Linked DNA regions of Homo sapiens: region 2 is linked to region 1. Evidence: promoter capture Hi-C in human tissues and cell types (Jung and others, 2019). All regions are on one chromosome and are shown on one strand. Each heading gives the region's core, a stretch centred on a gene start or on the middle of the fragment in contact. The rest is flanking DNA. Distances are from core to core; before and after follow the strand shown. Region 1 holds the start of SNAP25 (synaptosome associated protein 25). Region 2 has its middle 86 kb from the start of MKKS.

Region 1 (6,622 bases), core at 2,835-5,334:
AAAAACAAGGCCCAGTATGATTGATACATATCTAATTAATAGCTAATGAAAAAAATGGCAATCCTCCATATTAAAGCCAAGCTACATGTCATTTCTTAGAGAAATAAAGTTAAAGTCTCATCAAAATGATAGATTTTATTTAGCCAATACTTCATAGTGCTAGACATGACACTCAGTGCTTCATAATTTCCTTGTGTATTTGCTATAATTATTGTCTCCATTTTACCTATGAGATAATTGAGATACAAAGAGGTTACAGAACTAATATGATTCCTAAAAGATTTACTCAAGGAATACTGTGATCCCTAACAAATAGCCTTTTTGAAGTGTACTAATTTGGACTACCATTTTCTCTGCCTCTCTGTTCCTAATTGTCACAGGTTCTTCCTCCCTACTGGACCACAGGCGTGTCTCAGCATTGGGAAGGGTCCTAGGATGCATTGTAAAAGAAAGTCTGTAATTTTGGTGCATCAAGGAACAAAAGTGTGGAAACATCCAGCCTGTGGCTGCTGGACACTCCCCTTCTTCCTTCTCACCATACTGTCTGTAATAAAGAATAAAGTGTTATTTAATATTCTGAGTGTACAGTCCTATTTTTTCTTAACCTGGCAAACCAGAAACAGCAACTAATATTCCTGGTTCTCTTTTTACCTTTCACAAGATCTATATCTACCTTAGAGGCTTCAGGGAACAAGAACAGCCTGGATAGTTTAAACCTAGAGTTAAACTACTCGAGGCATTTTAAGGTACCGCTACTTCACTATATATAAATGGGGTGGGGGGCTGGATTAAGGGCTAGAAGAATATATGAAGAGAAAGTGGCAAGCAAACCACTTGGAAAGCAAACCAAGGAATCAAAACAGTTGCTCTATCAAACTGAATATTCTTGCGCAGAACTGAATATTCTTTGCCCTCACAGTGTTTTGAAACATTGTCATAGGGTGCCAGGCATGTCCCAAAGGAGGACCCTGGAGAGAGGGCTTCTGAGCTGGGCTATCTCTAAACTGCTTCCAAGTTGACTTTGGAAAGATCACATGGGATTTTAGAAAAGTTATTATTATTATGACTTATAAAATTGTAGTTATTGAGTCAACTATGAATCTTGCACCTTACCTTGGAGATACAAGCTAAATACCTTGGACCTAGAGCTACTGCAAACCAGAATACTTTGGGGCATAATGTACCAAAAAAGCTTTCAGAGGCTTGAATTATCACAGTGTAAATATCCATCTAGCAGAGCAGGTAATTTTCTCGTTACTCATCCTAAGCATTAGATACTCTGTGTGTTAGTTCTTTGCAGAAATAACCCATAGCAGCTGAACCATTTTGGAACAAATTTTCCATCACCTTCCTTCCCTGTGTGGTTCAGGCCTTTGCAAACCCTGAGTATCATGAATCTGCTGGTTCTCTACTGGCAAAGATGATGACGTTTTCTTGTTTGTTTTTGTTTTGCTTTAATCATGCCGTGAGAAAATCCTAAGGGAAAAAAATCTCATTATCCTATTCAAAATACATTTAGGGTTATCTGGTCATCCCTAGCAGATTTTTATGTACCCAATGTTTATGTATCTCAAATTACACTCTGTTACCTTTCCCAGAGCAAGATGAAGAACCTCTAAGAACCTCTCAAACAGCATCATTTTCACAACAAGCACTAGCAATGGAAAACATTGTCACCACCACCAGCTAATCTTGTAGGGTCCATGGTATTTTCTGTAATGCCTTGAAACAGTCTGCCTCTCTCTTCTTGTCTGTCATTTTTATAGATGTCAGTGTGGGGCATCAGCAGTTGAAAACTCAGAATACCAAGCCAGTCCTTCCCTGTGACTGCTACATAGCTTTTGCCTGCAGGATAAGCCTCCATCACTGACGTAGTTGCTTTTTAACTTCTTTTTTTTTTTTAACTTGGAAAATCCCCCACCTCCTCCATTCCTTCACAAAACTTTCTGCCTGAATGATTTCTAGTCTGAGGGCCATACACACATTTTTTTTTCTCCCTCTGCAGGTTTTTTTTTCTCTTCAAACTTCCGCATGCTGCCTTTTTTTAAAGTGTCACACTTTGGAAAAAATTCTGACTACAAAGGATTTTGCAGTACATTGCATTCAAACCCCTTTCCCCCTATTCCAACTTGCTTTATAATGAAAGTAAGAGCCATACTCAAGAGACTTTTATTGGCAATTAAGTATCTAAGGACTTTGCAGATTTTCTTCTTTATTGTATGGCAATCTTAAATGTTTAATGAATATTTAAGTAAACAAATTTCAGCAACATGCCTTTTTTAGGAATTTGGCTTTAATTAACATCCAAACACTGTTAATTATTATGGCAAAAACATCAATACGTCAAAAAAAAGCCTTCAGGCCAGGGAATCTTTAAGAAACAATTATGTCTACTAATTTCGATTAAAGGTATCCTTTATTAAATTCTTAACAACCCGTCTCTTTCTAAACGCAGCGCCTTCACAACTCTTCTTCCCTTCCCCCTACCCCGCTTCCCTCCCTCCGCAATGGAGCGCAATCAAAGGCCGTATTATTGCCTAAGCTTGGCTCTCAGGCCAGCTAGGGATGTGTGTGTGTGTGTGTGTGTGTGTGTGTGTGTGTGTGTGGTGGGGCGGGGGTGGGGGGCGAGGGTGCAAGGGGAGAGGTTGTACGCCGCTTTTCCGAACCCAGCTCTAAATGGTTTCTCCTAAGCGAGACAAGGATTTTCCATAGCCTAAAAGAGGCCATCAAGTTTTAACATTGCGAGGCACGACTTCTAATCGCATCCTTCCCGGAAAAGTACAAACAGTTCCTCAGACGAGGTCCCCCACCTCCCACGCGCTCCCCAGCCCTCCCTCCCTGCGGAGAGCCCCGCGACAGCCTCCCCAACACCTGTGAATCATCCGGGAGGCTGCCACCGCCGAGCGATCCGCGCACCACCCCCTTCCCGGGCCCGGGCACGGCCAGGGAGGACAGTTAGGGTTGTTGCTTTATAATTATCACTTTTAATCTCTAATACGACCAGCACAAGTAGCCTTTGTCTCCCCGCCCTGATTTGAGCATCCGAGGGCCCCCCGAGGCAGCCTGCACGGGTACCCCGGGGTTTGCGCACTGAGTGAACCCCCAGATTCGGCCGTGTCCCAGCCGTCCTTGCTCTGAATCCCCCACCTCCTCCCGGCCGTTTGGACGGTTCCCTCGGGGCGTCTGTGCCTCCGTGGGGTACCCCTAAGACACCCAGCATGAAACCCCAGCACCGACTGCAAATTCCACCGAAAGCAGAGTCATCCGTTTTTGCCCTCGGCAAACAACTCAACTTCAAGCCTCGAGTCCTTGCAAACCCACGCTGGCTGGGCTAACTCCGCTTCCCTTCTCCTTCCCCCGACTCCTGCAACAGCTCAGAGAGCCTGGCTCTGACGTAGTTCAAAATAACGTGCGCCAGCCTCGCTGCCCGGCTGACCACAGCAACGAGAGCCACAAGCCCTCGACGCTGCTTCGATAACATGAAGCAATCACTCATAAAAATAGCAACCCACGTAGCCTGGCCATATATGGAGCTGGCGAGGGTGGACGGGGATGCCCCTACGGACCCTCTTCGGAGAAAACAAATCGCCGCTGAAATTTCCCCCACCCCTCCCATCACTACCTTTTACCCCTCCTCTGCCTTCCCCTCTCCTTAGATGACTCAACCACAGATTCCACTGAAAGGGGGTGGGGGTGGGGGTGGGGGGGAATATATACACATACACACAAATTATACATATATTATACATGTATTATAAAATATACACACACATACATATATACATACACACACATATACACATATGTACACACACACGCACACACACCAAAGAACATCAGGAATGCAGTTGCGGGATGAACGCGTTTGCCCAAGACCGAGTGTTAAAATGGAGTCATAAGAGTCGCCCCGTGCGGGTGTTTATAGAAGGTGAAAACACGCAGGTTTGCAGGCCAGCGCACTGGGAACCGAGTCAAGCGCGCCGCAGCCCGGGCCCCGCCCCCGCCCCCGCCGTGCCCCGCCCCCACTTCCTCCCGCCCCTCGCTGGGCGGCTATTAAAAGCTGCTGACGTCAAAACGGACGGCCATCTTTGATGAGGGCAGAGCTCACGTTGCATTGAAGACGAAACCTCGGGGAGGTCAGGCGCTGTCTTTCCTTCCCTCCCTGCTCGGCGGCTCCACCACAGTTGCAACCTGCAGAGGCCCGGAGAACACAACCCTCCCGAGAAGCCCAGGTAAGAACCCCCCTCCCCAGGTCGTGGCTCTGGCTCGGGATGGCTGCATACCCAGAAGGGACAGCAGCTGGGCAGTCCGAGTGGGCTTGGGTAAATACAAGTATTGGTGCACTTAGGGTGCGGTATTCCGTGTGTGCACGTCTGGTGGGGGCTTTATAAAGTGTTTTCGAGGTGAGCTGCTGGGGAAAAGGGAAACGGGAGCCCTGCAAATGGAGCGACGGGGAGGAAGAGCGAGGGTACGTACCGAATAATAACTTACTCTTTTGAAACAGTAGTGGGACCCCCTCTTTCTTCCATTTTGCGATGCAGTTTTCAGAGATATTTAGGCTGTTGAGTTTTCCTCCCCTGTCGTTCTAACCCTATTATTATGACTGTTGTCGTTAGGGTGCTATTATCCAGGGAAGAATTAAGGGGGAGACAGGGTGTGGGTGCTGGGGAGGCGAAAGGAGAAAGGGGGAGTTCCCGCCCCGGGCAAGCTGAGCTGCTGCAGCGACAGCAGCCTCCATGCCCCGCGGACTTGATTTATGCCGCCTGCTCCACGTCAACTGCAGGCTGGCGGGAGGCGGGCGGGTCGTGCCGGGTGGGAGGGCTCTGCGGAGGGCTGGCGCGGGTGGGCTGGCTTCGGGGACTGCGGCGGCCCGCGCTCAGCACCCTGGATAGCAACACCGAGGGCTCGCGCGGGCGCCCTCGACCTTTCAGCACCGGGGACAGCGGTCCGGCCGCAGCGCCTCATCTGCCTGCGGCAGAAATGCCTGGCCGGGGCTGGATGTGCCAGGGCTGGAGACCAAATTGTCTCCCTGAGACCCCGGTCTTACGGAGACCCTTAATAGAGGAGTCATAGTAGCTTAAAAGAAAACAAGAAAGAAATAAATCTTCCTCACAGAGACTCCTTTGCAGACAATTTCCTGTTCCCCTCCTCACCTCCTGCATAGCTTCAACAAAATAGTCTACTTGTGGAAATCTTCTGTGTTGCCCTCTGACCCTTATTTTACGTAGAAAATAAATACATTTTTTAAAAAATATGGATTTATCCTCCAGCAGGGTATCAAGGTTTTTGTTTGGTTTTGTTTTTTAACACAGAGTAGATCTGTCTACAGATCTTGGGTGAGCATAAGTACTGTATATATGAAGAAGCCAATGCTATCTGTTTATAGGGATGATACATCTCTCTCTATGTTTCCATTTGATAAAAATGTGAGATTAGCTGAACTAAGCAGAATCAACTTTAAGAATGAATCACTCTTCCTTTTCCTTCTTCCCCCATCCTTGCAATCAGGCATGAATACAAGCATTCATCCACAAAAACACATATCTGAGAAATTTTACTGGTCCTGTACTGAATAGATTTAACCTCTTTGGCCACGGTTTCAGAGTTACTGGAAGTATTTGCTATCAGCACTGGTTATCGCAGGCTGATAGCTTTAGATTTTGACAATATTAAGACTGGCCTTCCTCAGGAGAATCCAAGTGTGTCCTTCAGGGTAATGCAGGTAAAGAACCATGGTGTTAAACTAGAACTTAACTCTGACCTAAAGGTCTACTGCAATTTCTCTTATGGCACTGCGGGATTTTGCTGAGGTGGTAATAACTACTTTAACCATTTTCTACTCTGAGGCTTGGAGCATCTGAGAGAGCAAAAGTCATCAGGGGTATTTCTCTCTGTTTGATGTAGATAAAACTGGCATAAAAATGACCAGAGTCAAAATTATGCCATTTGAGTCATTAGCAAAAAAGAGTAACAGCGTCATATGTAATAATCTATACAATGCATTAAAGAAACGCTATCATGATCCCCTTAAAAGACCCCAAATGAGAACTTGGATTGTGTTTAGATAGTCATACCTCCTATCATCTGTATGCTACAGACACTAAAATTCCCTGTCCATATACAGAAGGTAATTTCATTCGCTGCTATTTAATTATTTCCTAGTGTTTTTTCTTTTTATAGATGACCATGTGTTTCCATGTATGTATATGTTGATCTGTTATTTTGCATGGATGTAAAATTATTTGGGTGGACATTTATATATGAGTATGTAAACGTATAAAAGAAGTTTATAACTTTGCAATCTGCAGACAAAAATAAACAACTGTGTTTTAGTAGTGGAGGAGAGAAAATATGGGCAGGAATCTTTAAAAATGCTTTAACTTCATGCTGCATGTCCAGACAGCTGTCTGCGTAGTTGCGTCAAATGAAAAGCCTAATGCTGCCGGAATTACGTGCTTGGACATTAGTAATTACTGCTGGGTTTGTTTGCTAGTGGAAGACTGGGGAGGAGCGGGGGAAGTAGAGGACCGCAGTGAAGATGGCAAAGGGCACAGAGCTGAGAGGAAGAAGCAATGTGCACAATTAGAAAGCTAATTTTAGAATAGCTTACTGAGAAATTTAA
Region 2 (6,622 bases), core at 2,157-4,656, 130 kb after region 1:
AAAATTATGAAGTACCTACAGCTTTTAGGACTGAATTACATCTTTTCAGATATTATGACCATGATTCCTGGGTTTTCAAAAATTTGCCATTCCTAATACAGTTTTGCTCATCCTTCAATTTTTGACCATCCTAAATCACTTTTCTAACACGTGTCCTTCATATATGGCATAGGGTTTATAATCGCTTAAATTCCAACCTAATTTAAACTTATTCTCCTTTAAAATGTAAGTTAAATCCATTTATATTTATTGAGCTGACATGTGTTTGGTCTCTGTTCTGTCATATTATTTCACATTTTCTGTTTTTATATATTAAAGTCTTTAATATTTTAAAGACTTCATGCAGTCTATTTTCTTTGGTTTGCTTTCTGTGTATAGTTCTAAGATTTGATGAGGTCTGTAGTTCTGTTATGATGATTATTTTTATTAATGCATATCGTCAGCATACAATAGTTCCCTGTTACAAGAAATAAAAAATAGCGTTCTCTCCTTCTTCCCCATTCCCTTCCTCTCCTCCCCACCACCCAATTTAAATCAATAACGTTATCTTTCTTATCGTTACCTTTGTATTATTAAAAATGTGTGTATGCCTATCACTTCATTAGTCAGCTTTTAATGACGTCATTTAAATCAGCAGACTTATTTTAACTCCTACTTTCTTCACTCCGATTTGTAGTATTGTAAAATTTCTATATTGTCCATAGTCACTTCAAGATGGCTCTATCACCTTTAGCCAGTGTATTCTTACAGTGCTTTCTGAAATCTGTTTTTTCTGGGTTCTTTCACTAACCTTTTGCCTTTATCCTTCCTTTTCTCTTTTACTTTTTTCAGCTGCTCTTCCTGTCTGTTGCTTTTATATTTTACAGTCTGTGAATCATATTTGTCTCCTACTTTTTACTAAAGATGGCATCTCTGAAGTGTGTTTCTTCATTCTCCTTGAAGATTTTGTATAGATTTCAGGAGGAGAAAAAGAAAGAGACTTACTTACACAGAGTCATACTGGAAGTTCCTGTATGTGTTTGTTGCTGTTGTGTTTGTTTTGTTTTGTGATCATGTAGCGTTTCTCATGCCCATTAAAGGATCAAACCTCACAAAACTACAAAAGCAGTGACTCTGGTCACAGGTATTATAGGTATTTTAACAAAACAATTAAGAAATCATTTGAGGAGTAACCTTTCAGCACTTCTCAAGGTATAGAAGTGCTGTGATTTGAATGTTTGTCCCCTGCAAAAGTAAGGTTGAAATTTAATTGTAATGGTATTAAGGGTGGGACCTTTAAAAGGCGCTTAGGCCATGAGGATCTGCTTTCATAGGTGGGATTACTGTTGACATAAAAGGGCAAGTTCGGCCCTCTTGATCTCTTTGCCCTTCTACCATATGATGACTTTTGCCATGTTTTAACACTGAAAGAAGGTCCTCACCAGATGCTGGAATCTTCATGTTGGGCTTCTCAGCCTCTGGAAGTGTGAGCCAATAAATGTATGTTTATTATAAATTACCCAATCTGCAGTAATCTGTTAAAGCAGCATGAAACAGACTAAAACAAGAAGCAAATGGCTTTTTAGCAATACAATTATCTAGGCCAACTTCTAACCGTTCCTCACCTGGTAATAACCATTTTCCTTTCATTTCTGTTTTACAAGTCTAATTTTACAGAATTATAAATCATTAGCAATAAGAGTGATGCTGTAGTGCATATTCTCAAAGAAATTTAAGCCGTTGATAATTTTTTCTTGGAAGGTAAATGTCTTGTGCTTATTCTTAATTATTCAAGTGATTTAAAAATGTGGACATAATCATAACTGTCAAGGTAAAGATTATAGTGAACATATCCACTTGGAGTACTTCAGGAGAGTTAAATAAGATTGGAAAGTATTGTTCACCTATAAAGTTAGAGAACTGGGCAGAAAGAAAAACCTATTGATTACGTTACTTTTGCTCATTGTTTAATTCCTGACCCTTCTTGAAATAGCTGCCCAACCCCTACGAAACTGTCATACCTCTCTGATGGCAGTTGACTAGTAATAAAATTCAGGTCACCATCTATTACAGGCCAGAGAGTCTGACTTTCAGCATAGTCTTAGTGACCAAATTTGCCAAATGCTATAGAATATTCCAAAAACAAAAGGTTTCATTCCTTGGTATAGATAGTGTCCATCTATAAGATAAAGAAAATTAGATCTAACTCATACAATTGGTGTGAAGATCAAATAAGAAAATGTGGATAAAGTACATGAGCCATAAGTAATCAATAAGTGTCAGTGGCCCTCCTGTGTGCTTCTCAGCTCTTCCTCCCCTCCGCCATTTCTTACTACTATAACCTGGATTTCCCTTGGCAATAGTCCTTTTGGACTTCCCAAAACTAGGAAACTTTTTGCTGAAAGCAGATTATTCTTTGTTTAGTGGAGTATAATGTAGTCCTCTAGTGATCAGAAATGGAGTAACCATTTTTTTCCTCCTAAATACTATTTGGCTTATTAATGACTTGCTCCTATTATGGCATTTCTCACATTGTTTTATAGGGTTTTTTTTTTTTTTGCACATATTTCTTTCATCTTGATTTCAAAATATAGAAAGGCAAAGACTCTACATTTTCTTCTTCAAATCTATGACACAGTATTAGTGATCTATTGCCGCATAACAAATTACTCTGAAATTCATCAGCTTAAAACAACACACATTTATTTTCTCAGAGTTTCTCAGAAGCAGCTTAGCTGCATAGTTTTGGCTCAGGGTGTCTCACGAGATTGCAGTCAAGCTGTTTGCTGGGGCGACTGTCATCATTTTTCATATTCTTGGCTGTGTCATATAATGTTCAACAGAGTCTCTCTCTCTCTCTCTCTCTCTCTAGTTCTCATTTAGATTCTATATGAGACAGAAATTCCAGAGCCAATTTACTTTTGAAAAACCCCTCAAATTACCCCTAAAACACAGTCTATATCCCTTTCAAGATGTTGAACACAGTGAAAGGTCTGGTTAAAAGCTGGGGAGAATAGTGGGCTTAGAATCAGAGGACATGTTCTATGAAAAATTACATAATTTTAAATACAAGAATTATATTTAACTTAGCTACACAGACACACAGACACACACATACACACACACACACACACACACACACACACAAGAGGCATTCAGAGACTGAGGAGGCTGAGGGTACAAAGTTTCCTATCTCACCTTGACCACAGGACTCACTCTCAATTAGTGGATTAGCAGTTGCAATTTAAAATTTAAAAAGTTGTTTATTTATTTATTTTTGCCAAGTTGAACCTGCATACATGAAATACATTCATGATTTAACCCTGACATATTAATATTAAAAGGTAAAGAAGTTTTCAGATTCATCTTTAAGTGTTCTCTCAGATTTGATCTTATGCTTTCTCTGTCCAGCATTTCTGAGCTTTGCTCTGCTTGCTGATTGATGCTAACAAAGCAGGCCTCAGAATTGTTCTAGTATTAGAGCCACTGGAAGCCAAAGTGCTTCTTGCAGAATATAGTATTGTTATGTTGTATTCCAATCACACAGATAATACTTTAACACAAAATTATATTTGGTTATTTTAAGTTTATATTGATTAGGGTCATTACATTTAATTAAATTTACACAGCATGAAAGGCAATAGTGTCATGATCGCAAGTGTAAAAATCCAAACACACACACACACACACACATTTGATTCATAGGTTTTTGAATCAAACCTATCCCTTAATATTGGTTTGTTGTATGATCATTCTTCTAGCTACCGGCTAGTCCTCTCTGGCAGATAATCAATGGCACCTGTCAAAAGTTTAAGATGCATAATATTTTTTAAAAGTATTGTAGAAAAACAAGTTTAAGAAAAATTTCCTTGAGTTATTTTTCCCCAAACTGGAATACAGTTACATTTTAGCCAAAGCCCTTGCGTTCGCTTATAGAAGATAAACCTTCTGTTGCAACCAAGGAGACAATTCCAATCTATCTCATGAGCTGCATGGAAATCTGAAGGTCAAAAAACTCTGAATGTCTTTCTTCTGTTATCCTTGTTAAAAAATAATATATCCCATCTGGAAATTTGGAGCTTGAGTCCTCTGTGGTAAGTGCTTCCTTTGTTGTTATGTAATCTTTATTTTCTAAATTCTTTACCACTAGTTGTGTAAAGTTGGTCCTGATGTAGGTACAGACATACACACGCCTCGGTTAAGAGTAAAGGTTTTGAATAAGCTGGCTTCTCTGACCAGAATATTGCTAGAATGTAAGCACTGTGAGTACACAGGCCTCCATATATTTTGCTCACTGCTGTTTCCCTCGAGAAGTCCCTGGCATTTGGTGAAGGCTTGATCAATATTTGTTGAGTGTTTTTATGGTTGAAATCATTGTTTATGTTCCATTAGCTTTCACCATTTTTTTTTCATACCTCTGTATTAGTTTCCTAGGGCTGCCATAACAAATTACCAAAAACTTGGTGGCTTTAAACAACAGAAGTTTATTCTCTCACGGTTCTAGAGTTTGTAAGTCTGAAATCAAGCTGTTAGCAAGGCCACACTCCCTCCAAGGCTGTAGGGGGGTATTTTTCCTTGTCTCTTCTAGTTTCTTTTTTCTGGTGAAAAGATACATATATTTAGAATTAGCCAGCCAGACTCAGTTTAGATGATCCCAATTTTGTTGGCAACATCCAAAGCATCATAATCAGGACCCAGAAGAATATGTGCCTTCTTCTCTCTATCAGTCCTAACCAGGGTGTTGACCTTGGCCACATCAATGTCACAGAGCTTTTTCACAGCCTGTTTGATCTGGTGCTTGTTGGCTTTAACATCCACAATGAACACAGGTGTGCTGTTGTCTTCTGTCTTCTTCATGGGAGACTCAGTGGTCAGCAGAAACTTGATGATGACATAGTGGCCAAGCTTGTTTCTCCTGGGGGTGCTCTTTCGAGGATATTTGGGCTGCCTCTGAAGTCACAGTGTCTTGGTGGGCGGGGGTCGTGCAGATTTTCTTTATGTGTGTGTGTATGTGGCTGTGGACACCTTTCAGCACTGCCTTCTTGGCCTTCAAAGCCTTTGCTTTGGCCTTGGCTTTAGGAGGGACGGAAGCTTCCTTCTTCATCTTTGGCACCATCTTGTGAAAAGCTCTCTTCTAGTTTCTGATGTCTCCAGGCATCCCTTGGCTTGTAGCTGCACAACTCCAATCTCTGCCTCCATCTTCACATGGTCCTCCCCTATGTCTGCTTCTGCTCTTCTTTTTATAAGCACATTTGTCATTGGATTTGGGGCCCACCTAGTTAATCCAGGATGGTTTAATCTTGAGATTCTTCACTTAATTTACACCAACAAAGACTCTTTTTCCAAATAAGATCACATTCACACTCACACGTATCTGAAGTTGGAACTTGGACATGTTTTTCATGGCCACGATGCAACCCATTACAATGTCTAACTACCAATATTAAGATTCTATTCATTCAACACACATTTTTAAAATATCTATTATGTTCCAGGCACCAAATGGTGAGGATGCAAATATCAGCATGATGTGGCCACTGTCCTTCCTTAGCCAGATGACAACTTATCAAAGGTTTTTATCCTAATCCTTCTGTAATAAAATATATTTTAAATTCACATAAAAGGATATCTTATCTACTCTGAATCCCTTCGTATTAATTTTTCCATAAATTCTAAAGAACACTCTTCATTGTTACTTTTTCAATTGTCCTATTATTCATTTTTCAGATGTTATTAGCTCGAGGTCATTTCTTTCAAAAAATTTCATGATGTGAAACCATTTTAATTAGTTTCAACATATTTTCTTTCACCACAAGTCAAAGTACAGGAGCAGTAAACTTAGCAAGAACCCATTCATCCCTGTACCATTTTGTCATTAAGGTAACATCAATATCCCTCCGGCTGAGGTTAGCCATATCTTATCATGGCCTGGTTTCTTTGGAAAGCAGAGCCTGAGAACATATAGGTAGTTTATTTGGGAAATAATTCCAGGAAGCAGGAGTGTCAGATGGGGGCGGTTTGGAGGGGAACAGGGGATCAGGGAATCAAGAGGGAGAAACTAAACAGGAATACATTGCCAATTGAGCCCTCACAATGCAGTAACTGGTTTTTGCCCCCGTAAGACTTTCTGATTTTTTTTTTTTTTTGAGATGGAGTCTCACTCTGTTTCCCAGGCTGGAGTACAGTCACTGCAACCTCCGCCTCCCCAGTTCAAGCAATTCTCTTGCCTCAGCCTCCCGAGTAGCTGGGACGACTGGTGTGTGCCAGCTAATTTTTGCGTTTTTAGTAGAGATGGGGTTTCACCATGTTGATCAGGCTGGTCTCGAACTCCTGACCTCGTGATCCAACAGCCTCAGCCTCCCAAAGTGCTGGGATTACAGGCGTGAGCCACTTCGCCTGGCCTACTCCCTTACTTTCTTAGTAAACTTGCTTTCACTTTACTCTGTCATCTCACTTTTGATTTCCTTCCTGCATGAAGGCAAGAACCCATGTGACCTCCCAGGCTGCACCCCCTTGAGGTTCACCCTGTGAAAGAATGACTCACAGGACTCAGGAAAACACTGTACTTACAATTACTCTTTTCCCATAAAGGATACAAATGAATAGTCAGATGAAAAAACATATGATGGCAAGATCTGGAAGG

The links. The method cuts DNA at HindIII sites, captures the fragments that hold promoters and counts their contacts. A contact is called where the count stands out against the background at its distance.
Region 2: a contact is called between a fragment that was not itself captured here and the fragment with the promoter of SNAP25 in region 1, in 2 of the 25 tissues and cell types used here (mesendoderm cells and stomach).

Annotation. Positions count from the first base shown.
Region 1 is chr20:10,214,746-10,221,367 of GRCh38, forward strand. SNAP25 (synaptosome associated protein 25) reads left to right here and starts at 4,085. Exons shown (of 8, transcript NM_130811.4): 1 at 4,085-4,232. It overlaps SNAP25-AS1 (SNAP25 antisense RNA 1), which reads right to left and starts at 4,761. Exons shown (of 5, transcript NR_040710.1): 1 at 4,492-4,761. It overlaps LOC124904959 (a long non-coding RNA gene), which reads left to right. Exons shown (of 2, transcript XR_007067723.1): 2 at 381-574. The HindIII fragment of the contact is 5,357 bases long and covers 1,868-6,622 here.
Region 2 is chr20:10,344,534-10,351,155 of GRCh38, forward strand. It overlaps the pseudogene RPL23AP6. Among named protein-coding and RNA genes, the nearest start is that of MKKS, 86 kb to the right of the region's middle. RefSeq lists an enhancer at 6,333-6,562. The HindIII fragment of the contact is 3,141 bases long and covers 1,837-4,977 here.